Regions from separate parts of the Homo sapiens genome. Here region 2 is linked to region 1. Evidence: promoter capture Hi-C in 16 types of primary human blood cells and fetal thymus (Javierre and others, 2016). All regions are on one chromosome and are shown on one strand. The core of a region is centred on a gene start or on the middle of the fragment in contact, and the rest is flanking DNA. Distances in the headings are between cores, read along the strand shown.

The links. Contacts are between HindIII fragments. The CHiCAGO score rates a contact against its expected background, and 5 or more counts as called.
Region 2: a fragment that was not itself captured here is called in contact with the fragment with the promoter of NDUFA2 in region 1 in 1 of 17 cell types (erythroblasts); the score reaches 5.5 in erythroblasts.

Annotation. Positions count from the first base shown.
Region 1 is chr5:140,645,382-140,649,124 of GRCh38, forward strand. NDUFA2 (NADH:ubiquinone oxidoreductase subunit A2) reads right to left here and starts at 2,249. Exons shown (of 3, transcript NM_002488.5): 1 at 2,102-2,249; 2 at 1,875-1,981; 3 at 1-297. The coding sequence starts at 2,202. The coding sequence ends at 206. IK (IK cytokine) reads left to right here and starts at 2,448. Exons shown (of 20, transcript NM_006083.4): 1 at 2,448-2,543; 2 at 3,090-3,156. The coding sequence starts at 2,528. It overlaps MIR3655 (microRNA 3655), which reads left to right and starts at 2,463; the gene lies at 2,463-2,545. TMCO6 (transmembrane and coiled-coil domains 6) reads left to right here. Exons shown (of 12, transcript NM_018502.5): 12 at 1-23. RefSeq lists enhancers at 1,827-2,246, 1,987-2,522. The HindIII fragment of the contact is 1,275 bases long and covers 1,041-2,315 here.
Region 2 is chr5:141,629,251-141,633,012 of GRCh38, forward strand. It overlaps HDAC3 (histone deacetylase 3), which reads right to left. Exons shown (of 15, transcript NM_003883.4): 4 at 794-875; 5 at 610-666; 6 at 434-489; 7 at 1-56. Among named protein-coding and RNA genes, the nearest start is that of HDAC3, 5.7 kb to the right of the region's middle. The HindIII fragment of the contact is 184 bases long and covers 2,155-2,338 here.

The sequences.
Region 1 (3,743 bases), core at 999-3,498:
ATAAAGTTTTATTTTTATATTAAGCTACTTTGCCTCAGTGGTTGCACAGTAAGGGGTAGAGGGTAGATGAGGACAAGAACACCCTGAGAAAGTATTTTACAGCACAAGCTTTATGAGGAATAGGAGAACACATTTTTTTCACATTATACTAAGTCCAGCAGAGCCCAGGCTCTGGGGCTGTTGCTCTTAATCCTCAGTGGAGGCTTCAGGCTTTACCACTTAGAACGTTCTCCAGGGCTCTGGTTACCTGATCAGCACTGAAGTTGTTCAAAGGGACATTCGTCTCTTGGCCAAATGCTGAAGAGAGAGAGGGAGGTGTCTTTAACTATTCTGCACCCTGGAGGCTACCAAAGTAAAATAAAAGATCTTTGTCTTTATCTTAGTCTTGTTAAGACAGGAAGAGTATTAAAGAGATATGATCAAAATACATTTGGTATGCCTAGAATTAATACAATAGGTCTCAAACACATCTAGGAAGCCCAAGTCCAAATAGAATTTTGGCTGATTCTGGATGGCCGCAATGGGTTGTTTCAGGGAAGCTTTCGGGGGCACTGTAGGCATTTATTATTAACTACGGTGAGCAATGTATTGCATGGGTCCAGCCTCAGCTGGGAGCCCATTCTCTCTCTTTTTTTTTTTTTTTTTTTGAGACGGAGTCTCGCTCTGTCACCCAGGCTGGAGTGTGGTGGCACGATCTCCACTCACTGCAACCTCCACCTCCTGGGTTCAAGCAATTCTCCTGCCTCAGCCTCCTGAGTAGCTGGGATTACAGGTGCCCGCCACCACACCCGGCTAATTTTTGTATGTTTAGTAGAGACGGGGTTTTACCATGTTGGCCAGGCTGGTCTTGAACTCCTGACCTCAGGTGATCCACCTGCTTCAGCCTCCCAAAGTGCTGGGATTACAGGCGTGAACCACCGCACCCAGCTGGGTACCCATTCTCTAGGCTCCCATAGGCTATCTAACATAATACCCAGCACAATACACTAAAGTTACTCGTGTCTATCTCCTCCTGTAGTCTACTGGCTTTTGGAAGGAGAAGCTTTTTTCCTTCTCCAATTATTAGTGCATGTCTAATGTCTACTGTGTCTCACAGATATCTACTCTGAGAACCAATCTGCTTAAGGTGGTCACTCTCCTCCACCTCCTCCCGTCATTCCCAGGGCACCATATAGTTAAAAGCTGTGATTAAAATCCTGTTATTCAGTATGTATAAACATTTATTGCATACCTACAATGTGTTAGGCAACATGATAGGAAAATTTCATTTTGCAATACATTGCCATGCCAGTCTTAGAGGGGTAAGTGCATTCTAGGAAGGGGAATAAATGTAAAGGCTCAATCCTGTTAAACTCTAGCTGCATCTAAAGTTGCAGCTAGAGTTTAACAATAGTGCAAAACAAAGTTTTGATTCCGTTTTCTAATCTCTACAGTGAGAAAAGAAGAACACGCTTCCTCCTAACTAATGAAGATTAAATGAGTTAGGCAGGGAAGCACTCAGCACAGGGCCCAGCTCTATGTGCAAAATTACTGAGATTCTCACACACTACCTGGACTGACACTGGCTACACGTTATTTGGAGAAACTATATTGACTAACTTCTCTCCTGTCTGAAGCCCATTCTTAACTACAAAAACGTCAGCTCCTGGTCCCTACGCAGGATTCGGTCAGCCTGCATACTTATGTTGCCCGGAATACAACGCATCATATAACCCTGCGAATATAAATTTCTTCATGGAAACAAGATCAACAGCAAGGCTAAAGTCCGAGTTCTAGTTTCTCCACGGGTTTCTGCACGACCTTGGGCGGTCCCTTCTCTTCTCAAACCCTTGTTCCCCTACCGGAGCCCCAGACCCCTGGCGTCCCGCACTCACCGTAGCGGGCCCAGAGCTTGGGCTGCACATCGGAGCATTCGCGGATTAGGATGGGTAGGTCGGGATTCGCCTTCTTCAGCTCCACGTAGCGTTTCTCAATGAAGTCCCTGCGGGGCCGGAGAGAGCGCCGCGCGTGCTGTGGGCGGGGGCTTCCCTCAACTTCAGGGAGGTCGAGGTCGTGACCCTGGCGTCCCGAAGCCCGCCCGCCTCACCACGCCGCGCCTCACCTGACGCCCTGGCTGCCGGGCGAGCGCTGACATAAGTGGATGCGAATCTCACGCAGGCCCAGCTTTGCCCCGACTCCTCGACTTGCTGCGGCCGCCGCCATCCTTGTTAATATCGAAGTCGCCAATTCCAGGTCTTCAGGCCAAGTGCTCCGGTCTGACCAACCGCGGACCCTAAAGCCTAGCCCATAGGCTGCATGAGGCAGGGGCGGGGTAAAGCTTGGCCAATGATATAAAAGTATTGTAGGACCGCTGCGAGGTCAATTTCTTTGCGCTCGGGGTTGGTCGGAGGGAAAAACAGGAAGCGGAAAGGCTGCGAACGCAAAGCAGTGTGGGTTGATTCTGAGGTGCACTGTGGGAAAGAGCTTGTCGCTGCGGTGTTGCTGTTGGAGACTCGATTGTTGGTGACAGCGAAAGAACGATAACAAAATGCCGGAGCGAGATAGTAAGGCTCAGGCCATCCGTTATTTCTTCCCCATGGCACTTGGGGCACTTGGCGCATTATTGTAGCTTCTGAGCTTAAGCCGGGTGTGTGTGTGTGTGTGTGTGTGTGTGTGTGTGTGTGTATGTATGTATGTGTGACGCTTGAGCCCGGAGAAGCCACAGGGTCCTAAGTGAGGCCGACAGCTCCAAACTCCGTCCCCAGTCCTCACTCCTACTCCAAGTGATGATGGGCGGCTTTTGTGCGTGGATCGCTTTCCCCCAGTCCTGTCCCCATACTTAATCCTGGGTTGCGCGTATTTATCTTTTACGTAGTATTTTAGACGTGATCTTCCGGAAGTCTTCTCTGATCCTCCAGCGCAGGATTAGGGTCCTCTGCTTTGTGCTCCCACAGCTTCTTGTAGTTTCCTATTTCAGCACTTATTACATTGTGTTGACACTGTCGCTGTTCTAACTTTTGTTCTGTATTGTTCACTACTATATCTCAAATTTTTGCATAGGATCTGACACGTAAGAGACTGATTAAATTAACGTCAATTTTTTTTGTCAGGTGAGCCGTTCTCCAACCCTTTGGCCCCCGATGGCCACGATGTGGATGATCCTCACTCCTTCCACCAGTGAGTATTTTGTGCTAGGACCATGGAAATGAGTTGGGCAATGAATAGAAAAGTGGTGGTGATGGTGAAAGAATTCTGAATGTCTTGTCATCAAGGATGGTAAAAAATTATACCCGCTGGCCCTTTATCTCTGTGAGCCTTAACTGGATCAGGCCAAGTGCATAAGGGTATTAGAAGGGAAATTCCTGCAGGAAAGGTGTTAAGTTTTTTTTTTTTTTTATACGTGTTGTGTAATTACACATTATATAGGAATTACTTCTTCCAATAGCAAATTAAAACATAGGAAATAAGGGTAAAATCATCTTTTTATTTTTTTTGAGACTGAGTTTCGCTCTTGTTGCTCAGGCTGGAATGCAGTGGTGCGATCTCGGCTCACCACAACCTCCGCCTCCCGGGTTCAAGCAATTCTCCTGCCTCAGCCTTCCGAGTAGCTGGGATTACAGGCATGTTCCACTACGCCCGGCTAATTTTGTATTTTTAGTAGAGATGGGGTTTCTCCATGTTGATCAGGCTGGTCTTGAAATCCCGACTTCAGGTGATCCACCCGCCTCTGCCTCCCAAAGTGGTGGGAGTACAGGCGTGAGCCA
Region 2 (3,762 bases), core at 997-3,496, 980 kb after region 1:
GAACCCCGTCACCATGGTGGATGTCAATGTCAATGTAGAGCACCCGAGGGTGGTACCTAGAGGGAAGCCAAAGCCAGGGTCTGAGCTAGAAGTGAACCCCCCAACCCACTCCTCTCAAACACCGGGTCTCGAATTGTGAAGAGTCTGCTTCTGCCCTGGTCACCTGAAACTTAATGTCACCAGTTCCCTAAAGGCAACTGGGGGCTCCAGCCTAGAGGCTAGAGGCAGGGACAGGAGAGGGATATGCAGAGAAGGCTGAAATGTGAGCAGGCAGTAGGGAATCTGCAGCAGTGGAAGAGGCAGCCTGAATAAAGCATCAAGAACTTGGGAGAAGCTAATCAGGGAGGAGGGAGGTCAAGGTCAGGGTTGAGACTGAGAGACCTCCTCAGCCAAGAATCCCGTAACTGCCCCCATCTCCTCCTGGGCTACTTACTTGAGCAGCTCCAGGATGCCAATCACAATGTCGTTGACATAGCAGAAGCCAGAGGCCTATGGCAAGACAGTGGTCTCATAAAGAGAAGAGCAATTCCCCTCCCAGCTGCCCCCCACCATCATCCTAAACACCTACCCTAGGATGGCCACTGTCTTTCCCATCACCTCCTCACTCACCTCAAACTTCTTGGCATGGTGCAGACCACCAGCCCAGTTAATGGCAATATCACAGATCTGAAAGACAAACACCTAAGTCACAGTCCTTCCTGCCCACCCCTCAAGCTGGGAGCCCAGGATCAGGGTTAAATCCCGAGTCCAGGGATCCAGAGGAAAGGAAGAACAGGACTCGGGACTATGTCACCTTGTTGTTCAGCTGGGTTGCTCCTTGCAGAGATGCGCCTGTGTAACGCGAGCAGAACTCAAAGAGCCCGGGAAACACTGGGCTGCAGGGAAGAGGAACAAGTTGGAACCCTCCTGCCTCTGTCTGGGCCCTTCCCATATCTCCCTCCCCATCCTAGATTCCTCCAATCTCCATTTTTCAAGAACCTTCTCTCCCTCTCCTACACACGTGGGCTATCTGCAAATTTATTCAACAAATATTTTGGACCAAACCATGTACCAAGCCCTGTGCAAGGCACTGGATGGGAAGTAAAGAAGCACTTAACTGTCAGGGAGTTTGTATCCTAGCTGCGGAAAGAAGCAAGCAGCTTCCAGGTACTCAAGTACAATGTAAAAAGGAAATCAGTTGAAAGAAAACATGAGCTCTGTTTTTCTTAGTCTTCTCAGTGTAACAAATTTTAGCATAATGTTCAATAATATTTTTCAGTCACATATTTTAAAGAAAGAACTGTATACCTACATATGTGAAACAGTGATGAGATAACCCACGAAAAGCCTGTAGCACAGTATACAGTATCCGCTCAGCCTTTAATAAATGTCAGCTATAATTATTACCATTGTTATTCTTTATAAAAAGTAAAGGCTTGAAGCCAGACACAAAAGCCTACTTACTGTATGACTCCATTTATGTAACATTCTGGAAAAGGTAAAATACAAGGACAGACATCTTATCAGTAGTTGGCTGGATCTAGGTTGCAGAGAAGTTATTAACTACAAAAGGGTGAGTGACCTTTGTTGGGTAGTGGAAATTTCCTGTACCTTGATACCTTTTTTTTTTTTTTTTTTGTAGAGACAGGGTCTCACTATGTTGCCCAAGCTGGTCTCAAACTCCTGGGCCTAAGTGATCCTCCCGCCTTGGCCTCCCAAATTGTTGGGACTACAGGTGTGAGCCATCGGCGCTGGCCCTATACCTTGATATATTCTATCAAACCTCTCAGAACTCTTACACCTAAAAAAGGTTAATTTTACTGTATGCAAGTTATACCTATATAAACCTGACTTTTTAAAAAGGAAAGGCTTAGGCAATCCCTAGTTTTAGGTCTCAAAAAAAAAAAATAGTGCAGCTGATACATTTGACCATGTGAAAAACAGAACTGTAGGGGTTTTTTGTTTGTTTGTTTTTTGAGATGGGGTCTTGCTCTGTCGCCCAGGCTGGGGTGCAATGGTGCGATCTCGGCTCACTGCAGCCTCCGCCTCCCGGGTTCAAGCAAGAATTGTAGGGTTTTATAGTTTCTCAAAAGGCTTGGAAAGAATTAGTGATTAATACCAGAAAACTAAGCAAATGAAAAAATAATGCAATTGTCAGCTCCAGGAAAAACAAAAAGCTTTAGAAGAAAATAGATTAAATCACACTACACTATTTGGCTTGATAGTAAATGAATCTTTCAGAGTTATAATAATGTAAACACAGAATACTGATTTATTTTTAAATTACTATGAAGCTGAAAGGGGAAAGGAAGCCAATGTGATGGTGTAAGAAGACTAAATGCTCATATCCCATACTAAAAGCTTAACAGATAATGCCTAAAATTGACAGACGAAGAAATAGCAATGAGAGACAATACAGGAGGGGAGTATGATTACAAGCACCGATTCTGGAGCTAGACTACCTAGGTTCTTTAACACCTACTAATGATAGTGAGGTTGTACAAACTGTTTAACCTTTCTGTGCTTAAGTGTCCTCATCGGTAAAAGGAAACAATAATAGACCCTGCTTCATAGGGGTTGTTGAGATTAAATAAGCTAATGGCTGTAAAGCACTTAGAACAGTACCTAGTATATAACAGGTATTACCTAAGGATTACAGATTAGTAATAACAGTCAATTAATATTATTATTTAGAAATCCAAAGGTAAATACCAGAAGACATAGGGGAAAGGAGCTGAAAGTGGCTGTCACTGGGCAGAGGGATTTATGGGTGAAAAGGAGAGGTCTGGAATTTTTTTTTTTTTTTTTTTTTAAGACAGAGTCTCACTCTGTTGCCCAGGCTGGAGTGCAGTGGTGCAATCTCAGGTCACTGCAACCTCCAACTCCCGGGTTCAAGCAATTCTCCTGCCTCAGCCTCCTGGAGTAGCTGGGACTACAGGCACGTGCCACCACACATGACTAATTTTTGTATTTTTAGTAGAGATGGGGTTTCACCATGTTGGCCAGGCTGGTCTTGAACTCCTGACCTTAGGTGGTCCACCCGCCTCGGCCTCCGAAAGTGCTGGGATTACAGGCGTGAGCCACTGCGCCCGGCTTGGGACTACTTTTTTATTTTTTTCATTTAAAGGCCTATAGTACAATTTGGCTACTTATGTTAGAATACTTTGAAACCAATCAGAAATTCATTAAACAGAAGAAAAATTCCTGATTCTCATCGGAAATACAGATAAGCACAACTGTAACTTGTTTGACAGGAAGACTGATGCAGCATAAATAGCCCAGAGATAGTATTCTAATTAGCATTCCCTAATCGCACAAAGAGCATCTACGGGACCCCAGTGTGGCGTAAGGGCTGACCCTGTATTCACAGAGCTAGAAAGTGAGCTCAGAAATAACAGCAGGAATACTAACAAAAAAACAAGAAACCTCCCCAAACAGCATGTGACTGAACACCAAATGAGCAGTGCAGTGTGTGCAAGACAGAGCTCTATGGGCTGGTGTGGTCAAGAAAGGTTTCATGGAGATGGTGTGAAGGCTGAGAAGGCCTTGAAGAGGTTGAATAGAGAACTAAGGGCATTCCAGGAAGGCATCCTGTGCAGCTGAGGTGTAGGGATAAAGTTGGAAAGGTGCCAATGCCAGCCTAATGAGTTGGCCTCTATCCTACAGCCCTGGCTGCTTCTGTCATTAAGATCTTTCAGGAAAACAGATTAGTGGTTTAAAAACCCGGGATCTGGATCATGCCCCCTCCAATGACCAGTTATGTGACTACGGCTAAGTTACCTA